Regions from separate parts of the Homo sapiens genome. Here region 1 is linked to region 2. Evidence: promoter capture Hi-C in 16 types of primary human blood cells and fetal thymus (Javierre and others, 2016). All regions are on one chromosome and are shown on one strand. Each heading gives the region's core, a stretch centred on a gene start or on the middle of the fragment in contact. The rest is flanking DNA. Distances are from core to core; before and after follow the strand shown.

Evidence for each region. Contacts are between HindIII fragments. The CHiCAGO score rates a contact against its expected background, and 5 or more counts as called.
Region 1: a contact is called between a fragment that was not itself captured here and the fragment with the promoter of RPS15 in region 2, in 1 of 17 cell types (neutrophils). The highest score is 7.6, in neutrophils.

What each region holds. Positions count from the first base shown.
Region 1 is chr19:622,274-628,809 of GRCh38, forward strand. POLRMT (RNA polymerase mitochondrial) reads right to left here. Exons shown (of 21, transcript NM_005035.4): 4 at 2,851-2,981; 5 at 2,446-2,632; 6 at 1,181-1,330; 7 at 548-712; 8 at 309-479; 9 at 1-100. Among named protein-coding and RNA genes, the nearest start is that of POLRMT, 8.0 kb to the right of the region's middle. The HindIII fragment of the contact is 4,568 bases long and covers 1,750-6,317 here.
Region 2 is chr19:1,433,279-1,439,645 of GRCh38, forward strand. RPS15 (ribosomal protein S15) reads left to right here and starts at 5,118. Exons shown (of 4, transcript NM_001018.5): 1 at 5,118-5,150; 2 at 5,529-5,614. The coding sequence starts at 5,148. It overlaps DAZAP1 (DAZ associated protein 1), which reads left to right. Exons shown (of 12, transcript NM_018959.4): 12 at 1,459-2,406. The coding sequence ends at 1,634. RefSeq lists enhancers at 983-1,486, 4,863-5,733, 5,142-5,361. The HindIII fragment of the contact is 15,360 bases long and covers 1-6,367 here.

The sequences.
Region 1 (6,536 bases), core at 2,784-5,283, 810 kb before region 2:
CCAGCTCCATCTGCACTGGCAGGGGCCAGGGCTGCTCCCGCAGGGCCTCGGGCGCCCCCAGCTCCTCCCAGTACTGCCGCGGCAGGCAGGGCTCGGGCACCTGTAGGACAGGGCGGTCAGGGCGCTGGGCACCGGGGCCCCTGAGCTAGATGCCCCACCGCCCGTGCCTGACGCCCGGTGGGGCATCTGTCAGCCCAAGCATACAGATGAACAGACTGAAGCTTGGGTGCAAACCCGGCTGCTCCAGGGAGGGAGAGCGCCCACCCACCACTGGCCCCAGCCAGGAGGAGAGGGGGTGCGAGCCTCACCTCGGCGTCGGAGGCCAGCAAGCAGAGGTACTTCCTGTAGTGGTTCTGCAGCGCCTGCACCTGGCCACTGACCCGCTGCCTCTGCACCACGTGCCGGCTGAAAGTGCGCGCACTCAGCTCCCGGGCCAGGGTGGTGAAGGACTCACCTTGGGCGGGCAGCGCCTGCAGGACCTGCGGAAGGCAGCCGTGAGTGCCTGCCCGCCCCGCCCGGGGACCCGGCCGCGCGGAGGAAGACGCACCTGCAGGAGCATCCGCACCACCTCGCGCTCGTCCAGCAGGCACAGGAAGGGGTAAAGTGAGAACCGGCCCTCGTACACCTCGCGCTCTAGGCGGTTCTTGGTCTCCCGCAGCGCCCGGCACAGTGCTTTCTCCCATTGGTCCCGCAGGGTCTTCAGGGTCTTCCGCTGCGGGGGATGAACGGGCCCGGTGAGCCCCGTGGCAGCTGGTGGGACCCAGGCTCACAGGACGGGGGTCACCGCAGCTCCCTGCAGAGACCTCATGGCCCTCAAGGTCCCTGCTGTGTGTTCCGGGTAGCTCCTCACCCCGGCCTGCCCTCTGCCGGCTTCAGCGTGCCTGACGCAGCCAAGAGCAAAAGCCCAGCTGCAGTGTGCGCAGAAGCACAGGCCAAGACCCAACCTCGGGACCCCACAAGTTTTCCCTGAGCGGCAGCCAGGCTGAGTTCCTAGGCCCTGCATGACCAGACCAGGGCATGAGCAATTCAACCGCATACACGGAGCTCAGCCCCTGCGGCGGACACGCGACCCCGGCTCAGCCCCTGCGGCGGACACGGGACCCCGGCTCAGCCCGTGCGGTGGACACGCGACCCCGGCTCAGCCCCTGCGGCGGACACGGGACCCCGGCTCAGCCCCTACCGCGTGCTTGACCTCCTTGCTTGGCAACGTGGGCTTCTCCACGGACACCACGCACACCCTGCTGGCCAGCTCCATGTGGAGCTGCTTCTCAAAGAGGCACTGCAGGGTCTTCAAGGGCAGGTGCAGCTTCGGGTAGGACACACGCCCATCCTGCAGGGATGGGGGTAGTGAGGTTGGGGGCTTGCCAGAGGGCGACCTGCCCTCCCAGGACCCCGAGACAGCATGGGTGCACGCGTTTCTGCGTCTCCTGCAAGTTGCTGGTGGCTATCGCTGACGCGGGGAAAGGCGGGCTGCGGGTAAAGTCAGTGCCAGCAGTGCAAACCAAAGGCCTTGACCCTCCTGGCCTCGACCCCTCTAGAAGGGACACTGGGCACCGTGCAGGGGGTGGCAGGGGCGGTGATGCTGGGAGCTGGCAGAGCCTGGGGAGACCGTTCACTGCACCCCCAGATGTTGGCTGTTTTCTCCTCAAACTCAGAACTGTATGAATGTGACCCATCCAGAAATAGATGAATTAAAAATAACAACTAAAGCCTAGCGCTTTGAGAATCAAAGACGCACGTCCACATAAAAGCTTGTACACAAACGTTCACAGCTGCATGACTCGCAGTCGATAAGTAGAAACAGCCCAACGTCCCATAAACGGACGAACAGACGGGCACGGCGCGGCCATCCACGCACCGGAGCATGACTCAGCCCTGACCCAGGTCGCCTCCCGGAGGCACCATGAGGACGTCACGCTCAGTGGGAGATGCCAAACACAAAAGGTCTCGCAGTGTGTGGTCCCATTTCTATGGAATGTCCAGAGCAGACTCATCCACAGATGGGGAGGGGATGGGGAGTGACGGGGATGGGGACGAGGCTTCCTTTTAGGGTGATGGAACATTCTAGAATTAGACAACCGTGACTACACTAAAATCGCTGAATTACACCTTTAAGAGGGTTTTATGGCAGGTGAATTACACCTCAGTAACAGACGAGCCCACTGCGTGCACCTGGCAGCCCCACTCAAACGCACTGCTCTCCTGTCACCCCACCCTCTCTCTGCGGCCCCCGACCACCTCGTCCCCCTGAGCCCACACCCTCAGGGCCAAGACCCTCCCAGCTCTGGGTCCTCCCATCTTCTCAGAGGAGGAAGGGAGGAATTCAGGGCCCAGCCCAGGTGAGCCCTGGGCACCGGGGAGGCCCATTGGTCTGAGCTGAGGCTCCAGGAACCCCCAAAGGGCAGCTATAAGGACTGAAGTCTGCCGGGGCCCACGTGGGCTCACCTTGGCATACACGTCCCTGAGCAGCTTGGAGGTGTTGACCGGGGGCGGCAGCTGCGGCGGGAGGCTGAAGGTGGGCTTCACCTTGTGCACGGCCTTCAGAACAGTGGCCCGATCCTCCTCAGACAGCAGAACGGCGGTGAAGAGTGCCTGCAGCTTCAGCCCCTCCTGGCTCATCTGTTCCAGACACCTGTGGTGCAGGCGGCCTGCTCGAGGGACGGGCCAGCCCCACGCTGGGCTTCCACAGACCCCAGGGGAACCTCGTGACCACCTCCTGCTAGCCTGCAGGTCTCGGTGTGGCTGTCAGGCCCTCTGGGGGTCCCCAGCCCCCAGCCCAGGCACCGTCCCAGATCTTAAAACCCTGGGAGGGACATGGTGGGGGGTGGGGGCCCTCCCGACACCACCTACCTTTCGATGGTCCCGGCGTCCTGGTCCTGCCTCCCCATGCACTGGAGGGCAGCCGCATAGGACAGCAGGTCCGGAGTCAAGCCGGCATCCTTCACCATGAATAACACATATACCAGCTCCTTGAAGGCACCCTGGGAGACCAAGCCAGGGTGAGGGTCTGGGGGGATGGCCCAACCTCCACATCCTCCCTGCTCCCTGGAGACCCCTTCTCTGTAGCCACCAGCTCAGCAGGGGACAGGGTCACCAGGCAGGAGTGGCCAGCTGGGCAGACCGATGCATCCCCCTGAGGTTCTGACACACAAGCTCCACCTGCAGAGGCAGCCGCATGGCCCGCCAGGTGGGACTGTGGGAGGTTCACGTTCCTCTGGGAGGCAGCTTGTTAAACCTCCAGATTTGTCAATTGTGTGGATCTTTTCAAAGGACTGACTTGGCTTGACTGTTCTCTGCTGTTTCTGCCTTCCATTTCATCGATTTGTTTTAATCTTTGTAACTTCCTCTCATCTACTTGCTTTAGGTTTAGTGACAGCTTCTTCTTCTAGTTTCCTAAGGTGAAAGGTGACGTATTTGGTCTGAGATGTTTCACTTTTTTTCCCCCCAAGATGGAGTCTTGCTCTGTTGCCCAGGCTGGAGTGCAGTGGCACAATCTCAGCTGGGCCGGGTTCTCTGCCTCCCAGGTTCCAGCACTTCTCCTGCCTCAGCCTCCTGAGTAGCTGGGATTACAGGCACACGCCACCACACCAGCTAATTTTTTGTATTCTTAGCAGATACGGGGTTTCACCATGCTGGCCAGGCTGGTCTCGAACTCCTGACATCGTGATCCGCCAGCCTCAGCCTCCCAAAGTGCTGGGATGACAGGTGTGCACCACCGCGCCCGGCCATCACCTTTCCGAATATAGGCATTTTGTGACTATAAATTACCCTGCGAGCACTGTGTCAGCTGCATCCCAGGACTTCTGACAGGTGGTGTTTTCATTTTCATTATCTCCAAGTGTTTTCGAACTTCATAGTTTACTTCTTCTTTGGAAATTTTATTTAATTATTTTTTTAGATAGAGTCTCGCTCTGTCGCCCAGGCTGGAGTGCAGTGGCGCAATCTCAGCTCACTGTCAACCTCCGCCTCCCGGGTTCAACCGATTCTCCTGCCTCAGCCTCCTGAGTAGCTGGGACTACAGGCACATGCCACCACACCCAGCTAATTATTTTGTATTTTTAGTAGAGATGGGGTTTCGCCCTGTTGGCCAGGCTGGTCTCCAACTCCTGACCTCAGGGGATCCACCCGCCTCGGCCTCCCAAAGTGCTGGGATTACAGGTGTGAGCCACCACGCCCAGCCATGTATAGCTTAAATATCCCCTGCAATTTTTTTTTTTTTCATTTAATTTTTGGCCAGGCACAGTGGCTCATGCCTGTAACCCCAGCACTTTGGGAGGCCAAGACAGGAGGATCACAAGGTCAGGAGTTTAAGACCAGCCTGGCCAACATAGTGAAACCCCATCTCCACTAAAAATACAAAAAAAAAAAAAAAAAATTAGCTGGGCGTGGTGGCTCATGCCTGTGCTCCCTCCACTAAAAATACAAAAAAAAAAAAAAATTAGCTGGGCGTGGTGGCACATGCCTGTAATCTCAGCTACTGGGAGCCTGGGGCAGGAGAATCACTTGAACGCAGAAAGCGGAAATTGCGGTAAGCCGGGATCTCACCACTGCACTCCAGCCTGGGAGACAGAAACTTTGCTGTCGACAGACTTGGAGACTCTGTCTTAAAATATACACACACACACATATATATATATATATAAAATAACATATATATATAATTTTTTTCTTGTATTCATTTTTCCTGACATCCCTGTTCTGAGCAATTTCTCCTTTGACCCAGTGGCTGCTTAAGAGTGGCCTGTAACTGTAACAGACTATTCCAAAGGGAAAAAAATTCCCTTACATCCTCCCACCCCATAGTCCTGCAGCTGAAGACATGCTGTGACATGAGGTGGCCACACACCAGAGACCAGAGACATGAGTTTTGGGGCATTTTTTTTTTTTTTTTTTTTTGAGACGGAGTCTCGCTCTGTCGCCCAGGCTGGAGTGCAGTGGCTCGATCTCGGCTCACTGCAAGCTCTGCCTCCCAGGTTCACTCCATCCTCCTGCCTCAGCCTCCCAAGTAGCTGGGACTGCAGGCGCCCGCCACCACACCCGGCTAATTTTTTGTATATTTTTAGTAGAGACGGGGTTTCACTGTGTTAGCCAGGATGGTCTCATCTCCTGACCTCGTGATCCGCCCGCCTCAGCCTCCCAAAGTGCTGGGATTACAGGCGTGAGCCACTGTGCCCGGCCGGTTTTGGGGCAGTTTCTAAACAACCTCTGTATGGTAGACCTCACTGGCCACACATAGTCCTTAAATTGAAATATTCAGTTCTTCCCTTTCACCAGCTTCAAGTGTTCAGTAGCACACACAGCTGTTGGCAGATGCGGAAAATTCCCAACATCATAGAAAGTTCTACTGGATGGTGCTGGTTAGAATACGTGGCCGGGCGCGGTCGCTCACGCCTGTAATCCCAGCACTTAGGGAGGCTGAGGCGGGCGGATTACCTGAGGTCAGGAGTTTGAGACCAGCCCGGCCAACATGGCAAAAGCCCGTCTCTACTAAAAATACAAAAATTGGCCGGGCGTGGTGGTGAGTCCCTGTAATCCCAGCCACTCAGGAGGCTGCGGCAGGGAGAATTATTGAACCCAGGAGGCGGAGGCTGTAGTGAGCCGAGATCATGGCACTGCACCCTAGCCTGGGCAACAGACAGAGAGTCTATCTCAAAAAAAAAAAAAAAAAAAAGATAGAAGCAATGCCTTAGCCTGGCTAACATGCTGAAACCCCACCTCTACTAAAAATAAAAATTAAAACAATTATCCGGGGGTGGTGGCACACGCCTGTAATCCCAGCTGCTCGGGAGGCTGAGCTCGCAGTCCAGCGACATCCAGGACTGCTGGCCACCCCGGAACGCTGGGAGAGGCAGGAGGGGCCCCTGCTAGAGCCTCTGGAGAGACTTCGGGTCTGCAGACATCTTGATTCCAGACTTCTGGGCTCGTGCTAAGAGTGCGTTTCTGCTGTGCAAGCCGCCAGGTTTGGGACACTTTCGTAGGGGCCGATCCCAAAAGCGCCCTGTTACAGTGTGGGCTCTCTGCCCAGGGAATCCAGGGGGCTTGTGACCTTGGAGGGGAAAATACACGACCCTCATCCTCAGTCCTCCCGGAGTCTGGCGCCCCCTGCAGCAAGGAGGAACCAGGCAGCACGCCGCCTCCACCTCGCGGTAAGAGCACTGCGGACTTCACCGCAAGACTGGCCCCACCTGATCCTGAATTTCGCTGTTTGATGCGTTAATAAAGAAGCACATCAAGTTCTCTACCACGAATTGGTCTTAATATTGCGATATCTGTATTTTAATATAATAGTATCCCATGTTTACCCAAATATTAAGAGAAGCTTTTACTGTTGTTTCTCAAATTAGGGCTGAAGGATCATGGGGGGGGAGAAAGCTGGGAACGTTTGCTGCTTTGAAAGGGTGTGTAAACAACACCCTCCAAAACAACCAAGAGTTCCGAGGAGAAACTTTGGCCGGATACGGTGGCTCACGCCTGTAATCTCAGCTCCTCGGGAGGCTCAGGGGGGCAGATCACGAGGTCAGGAGTTTGAGACCAGC
Region 2 (6,367 bases), core at 3,868-6,367:
CTCGCCCTGCACTGAGCCAGGAGTCACAGCAGCCTTGCTCAGGACCAACGCGGTGGCCTCAGTGGGCAGGGCTCCAACTACGGTCAGCTCCTCCAGCACCAGGGGTCATTCACAAGCAGGGTTTGAGAACATGGGGCACCTGTCTGCAGGTGGCCACGGGCTTCCGGGGTGCCTGTGAACACGCTTCCTCTAGGCCTGGTGGAGGCCGGGGTGTGGGAGCTGTGTTCGGCCGAGGTGCCCGCCCACCCACCTCGCATGGCTGTGGTTCCCCTGCCCCCACGCCCAGGCCTTGGGCCGAGGTTGCCGCATGTGTGGGTTCTTGACCCACTCACCACCAAACCCTGGCGTGTCTGAGACTGGCAGGGGGGTGTGAGGCGCCCGGTTGGGGCGTGGCGTGTGTCAGCCGCTGCTCTTGGTGGCGGCTGCTTGGGTTGGTCACCCTGGTCTCGTCTCTTGCCAGGCCTGGGTTCCTATTCTCCAGCCCCGCCGGGCTGCGGCCCACACTTTGTTTACAGTCTTATGGTCAGGCTGAGCAGTGATGTGGCCTAGGTAGGTGCCGCCTCCTTCTCCAGGGTCCTCCCACCCGCCTGCACCGGGAGGTGGACGTGGCTTCCTCTGCCGTCCCGGGCGGGGGTGGACGCTGGCGGTGCCCTCTGGGAAGGGGCCCTTGCCGGTGCCAAGACATTGGCCACAAGCCTTCAGCGGGCCCAGGATCCCCCAGAGAGAGCCCACGCCCACCTGTGCCCACGTGCACCCGAATGGGAACCCAGAGGTCGTGGGAGGGGCTTCCTGCAAGGTGTGCAGCGGGGTGGGGAGCGGCGTGAGCAGCTCTGTCCTTGTAAAGACACCGCTGTCCATGCTCCTGAGGTCGGCTGTGTGGGCCGGACGGGCTGCAGGGTGTGCTGGCCCCTCAGCCAGTGGTGTCACTGGGGCAGTCAGGTTGGGCCCAGAAACCCTTCCCTGACACGTGCCACCGATGGACGTGCCCTGACAGGAAGGACAACGTGGGGTCTGGTCTGCGACGGAGGGGCAGGCCCTGTATCGCTGCAAGGGCCCGTCAGGGGTTTTCTGAAACTCCGAGAGCCAGCTTTCTAGAAGCCTGGTCCACCGTGCCTTGGGCCATGTGTGTCTCCAAGCCCCGAGGCTTCTCTACCTCCCCTCACCCCCCCAACCACGTCTTCGGGATTGAACAGGGAAGCGGTGAGGTTACGTGGGCCATGGAGGGCTCTGGAAGCCGCTTTTCTCTGTGTGTGCCCCTGCTCACATGTTTTTGAGGGAGAGAACATGCCCGGGGTCCTCTCCCCGGCCCAGGTGCTGGCCTCAGAAGGGCCCCACCCGCACCCCGTGGGACCCGTGGACTCAAGGCAGGCTCGGCGGAGCTGTGTCCAGGTGGCCTCGCTCGACGGCAGTGCCAACCGCCCAGGGACCGCCCCGAGCTCACAGGACTTTCTCCCCCAGCAGGTTACGGGCAGGACTTGAGTGGCTTCGGACAGGGCTTCTCAGACCCCAGCCAGCAGCCTCCTTCCTACGGGGGTCCCTCCGTGCCAGGGTCGGGGGGCCCCCCCGCCGGCGGCAGCGGCTTTGGACGAGGGCAGAACCACAACGTGCAAGGGTTCCACCCCTACCGACGCTAGCCCGCGGCGCCGCGACGTCTGCACGGCCCAGACCCAGGATTCCAAACTTGTGAACTCGTGACAATCACAAACTTGGCGGCAAAGTGGCGACTCAACCTTGGGGGGGGGGGCGGGGGGAGGGCGCGAGGCTTTTGGAGCGGCTGTGGGTGTCGTCTGGACTGAGGTTTTTAAATATTTCTTTCTCTAACCCATCAGCACAATAAAAAAAAGTCACTGGTTCAACAACAGGGTTTAAAAAAAATGTCTTCAGCTTTAATTCAAAACTTCAGGTTTCTTTTTCTTCCTTTTTTTTGGAAATTATTTTCCTGAGCCTTTTGTTTTACGGTATATTGTAAACTTTTATGTTAAAGAAAAAATATACATTTACAAATTGTGAGATTTTTAAGAGAAATTTTCTACGATGTATACTGGCTTATTTTTTAATTTAAAACGGGGTTTCCGTCGGCACTGGTGGAGGGGGTGCGCTGTTAGTCCCCTCGCTCCTGGCTTTGGGGGTTGGGACTTGGTGGTCCAGAAACTCTGGGAGCTTCTAGAAGAAATCTACTGAGTGTATTTCTGTTTTTTGTTTAATTCCTTGCTTTTGTCGACTGACCTGCTTGGTAGTGTCTGAGGTGAACTGTGGGGGTTGCGCACAGCCAGCCGCGTGGATCCCACGCAGCGCTGAACCGAACCGAGTAGGAAGCCTTTCTCCCCAGGCACGTGGCTTCAGGGCGTTTCCCATTGACCAGTTTGACCCTGGTTTGAATAAAGAGAAGTGCGTTTGGATTAGAAACCACTTTGTGTCCGTTTTTTCCCTCCTTGGTCTTGGCCTGTGCCTACCCTTCCAGTGCCTAGGAAAGGTCTGAAACGCGACGGAGGCGCCCTCGCCCTCCCCTTGGCTCTTGGTGGTCTCAGCAACCCCGAGGGCTTCAGGGCAGAGGCTGAGTGGCGAGCTGGGCCCATCCCTCAGTGGGTCTTGGGATGCTGTGACTTTGAGGATGTGGCCACCACCAGTTTTCTCGGGGAATGTGGGCTCCAGGCTTTTCCCATCTCAAGACCTTTAATCATATCTTTTGCCATGGAAGGTGACATATCCCCAGGTTCTGGGGATTAGGACAGGGGCATCTTTGGAAAGGGATACTCTGTCACTGTGGCAGGGAAGGCGAGACTTAAAAAGGGCCGGGCGCGGTGGCTCACGACTGTAATCCCAGCACTTTGGGAGGCCGAGGCGGGCGGATCACCTGAGGTCGGGAGTTCGAGACCAGCCTGACCAACATGGAGAAACCCCGTCTCTACTAAAAATACAAAAATTAACCGGGTGTGGTGGTGCATGCCTGTAATCCCAGCTACTTGGGAGGCTGAGGCAGAAGAATCGCTTGAACCTGGGAGGCGGAGCTTGCAGTGAGCCGAGATTGCGCCATTGCACTCCAGCCTGGGCAACAAGAGCGAAACTCCGTCTCAAAAAACAAAACAAGAAAAAAAAAGGACCATGAAGTCCCAAACTGGAAGCCTACAGCGTGCCAGGCGTGAGACTGTTCAGGCGACAGCCAGAACCACCCCCCCCCGCCCCAGTTCATATTTTGGGGACAGGGAAGGTTTGACTTAGTTTGGAGAGAACCAAGAGAAGGGGTACCCCCAACATCCCTGTGCAGTGCAGTTTCCTCACTGAGACAGTACCCCTCAACGCCTCAGCCCAGGAAGCCAGCTCCATTCCCTGCCGTCAGAGCCTTCTCCCATGTCCTCAGGAGCTGCTGCCCCAGCTCCCAGGAGGGCCAGGCGGGGGCGGCTGTCTATCCACACCACAGGTCATCATGGTGTTGAGTGTCAGCCCCTCCCGTTACATTAGCTCCCCCAGCCAAAGAGCAGCACTCACAAAATCAGCTTTCCAGCCAGGACACTCTGCTGCAGGAAAATGGGTAACATGGACGGGCCCGACACATAGGTCCTGTGCTCCTCGGGACGGAGACTCAGCCCTCCCTGAGTACAGTGTAATTGGCTTCCCTTGGGACTGTGGGGACGGCTGGGGAGAGCTCAGCTCCCTGGACAGTGCCACAGCTAAGCTCGGGTTCCCAGAGGTTTTGTGCTTTTTTTTTTTCTTTTTCTTTTTTTTTTTTTTTTTTTTTTTTGAGAAGGAGTCTCTGTCGCCCAGGCTGGAGTGCAGTGGTGCGATCTCAGCTCACTGCAACCTCCGCCTCCCGGGTTCAAGCGGTTCTCCTGCCTCAGCCTCCCAAGGAGCTGGGATTACAGGCACCCACCACCACGCCTGGCTAATTTTTTGTATTTTTAGTAGAGTTAGGGTTGGTCAGCTTGGTCTTGAACTCTTGACCTCAGGTGATCCGCCCGCCTCGGCCTCCCAAAGTGCTGGAATTACAAGCATAAGCCACCACGCCCAGCCAGGTGCCACATCCATAGTTAATAGTCACCTTCAACTTTATACTTAATTCCAGTAAGATACAGAAACATCACTCCTAGGCCAGGCGCGGTGGCTCACGCCTGTAATCCCAGCACTTTGGGAGGCCAAAGCGGGTGGATCACCTGAGGTCAGGAGTTCGAGACCAACATGGCCTGGCCAACATGGAGAAACCGTGTCTTTACTAAAAATACAAAATTAGCCGGGCACGGTAACAGGTGCCTGTAATCCCAGCTACTTGGGAGGCTGAGGCAGGAGAATCGCTTGAACCCAGGAGGCAGAGGTTGCAGTGAGCCGAGATCACACCACTGCACTCCAGCCAGGGCAACAAGAGTGAAACTCTGTCTCAAAAAAAAAAAAAAGTCACTCCTACATAGTTCTAGTTACTCCTTCTCTTTGAGCTATCATTATTCACATTACATTTACATATCTTAACAAACCCAGTGATATTCCTAACTTTATTTTTGAGGCAGGGTCTTGCTCTGTCGCCCAGGCTGGAGTGCCGTTGGCGCGATCACGGCTCACTGCAGCCTTGACCTCCTGGGCTGAAGGCTCAGCCTCCCGAGTAGCTGGGAATTTTTTGTACTTTTTATTCTTTTATGTCCGTGTGTACACAAATTTTTGTATTTTTTTGTAGAGAGGCAGTCTCACTGTGTTGTCCTTACTAACTTTATATACAAAATTTTATCTGTTAAAGCCGGAATGGTTCTTTTCAGCGAGGCCCTGTCCCTGCTCCAGTATCTGTAATGAATTCTCGTGTTCCTCCCACAGTGGGACCTGAACCGCCAAACCGCACCTACGAGCAAACGGTAGGCGCTCCATAAATACTTGTTGATGTGGGTGCCATCGTGTAGATGACGGAGCACGAACCCGAGGCTCAGACAGGGGCGGCGACTTGTCCAAAGTCCCACTCCGTGGAGGAAGCGGCTCTGCAGACCTCAGGCGGCGGCTGCTCTAATCCCTGCAGCCTGTGTTTTGCCCTCCAGACGGCAGAGGGCGCGTGTTCGCCGCCGGGAAAGCGGAAGCGCGTGTGCGCGCACGGCCGAGGGGGCGGGACATGCCGGCAGTCTCGCGATAACTGCGCAGGCGCGGACCAAAGCGATCTCTTCTGAGGATCCGGCAAGATGGTGAGTGTTGCGATTTGGCGCGTCTCTGCCGGGCCTATCCGGCTCCATCCAACCTCTGACCGTCTCGCGGGGGCCGCAGTTCGTCCCCGCGGCTACGGCGGCTTGCTCCCGACCCTGCAGGCGGCTGGATGTTGGGGCGAGGGGCGGACTTGGTGGGTGTCGGGACGACGCGGGGCTGGGAAGGCCTGTCCGGGCCTTCATGTCCGGGTCCTCGTAACCCGGAGCCGCGAGTGATCCCCGGGGACGGGTCGAAGCGGTGTGTCCCTGTCGGGCTTCTGTCCCCGGCGGCGCCGCGCGTCTTCCGCGGTGTCCTCGGGCCCGGTGGCCCCGGGAGATGGGTGTCGGGATCCCGCTGACGCCCGATCCGCGCCCGCACAGGCAGAAGTAGAGCAGAAGAAGAAGCGGACCTTCCGCAAGTTCACCTACCGCGGCGTGGACCTCGACCAGCTGCTGGACATGTCCTAGTAAGGGCGGCCGCGGGGGTCGCGGGCAGGGGCTGGGCCAGCGGTGGGGCTTGTCCGGGTGAGGGCGGCGGGGCGGGGGTCCAAGCGCCTCTGCGGCGGTGGGCGGGCACGGTCTCCGCGCGGGTTTGGAACTGAGTGTGGTCTTGCGCCCAGAAAACTGTCCAGAGACGTTGAGGTTTTTGCTTATTTGCAACCTGCCCCCCGTTGTTCACTTTTCCGCGGCTTAGTTGGAAGGTGTAGCCCCTGTCTGTAGCCCACGTGACTTAGAATAAGGGGCTGCGTTAGACTCCTTAGATTTTAAGGGCGGTGGAGGTCGCTGGGTCCTTTCCAGGCAGGGTGGTGGTGGGCATCTGGCTTGCGCTTTTATTTTTTAATTTTTGATTATTTTGAGGCGGAGTCTCATCCTGTCGCCCAGGCTGGAGTGCAATGGCTCCGTCCCAGCTCACTGCAGCCTCCCACTCCCGGGTTCAAGCGATTCTCTTGCCTCAGCCTCTCGAGTAGCTGGGATTAGAGGGCCCCCCCACCACGTCCGGCTAATTTTTGTATTTTTAGTAGAGACGAGTTTCAGTGTTGCCCAGGCTGGTCTCAAACTCCTGACCTCAGGTGATCCACCTGCCTCGGCCTCCCAAAGTGCTGGGATTACAGGCGTGAACACCGCGCCCGACCTTGATTTTTGATTATTTGTGGAAACAGCGTTTCTCTGTGTCGTCCAGGTTGGTCTTGAACTCCTGGGCTCAAGCGACCCTCCCGCCT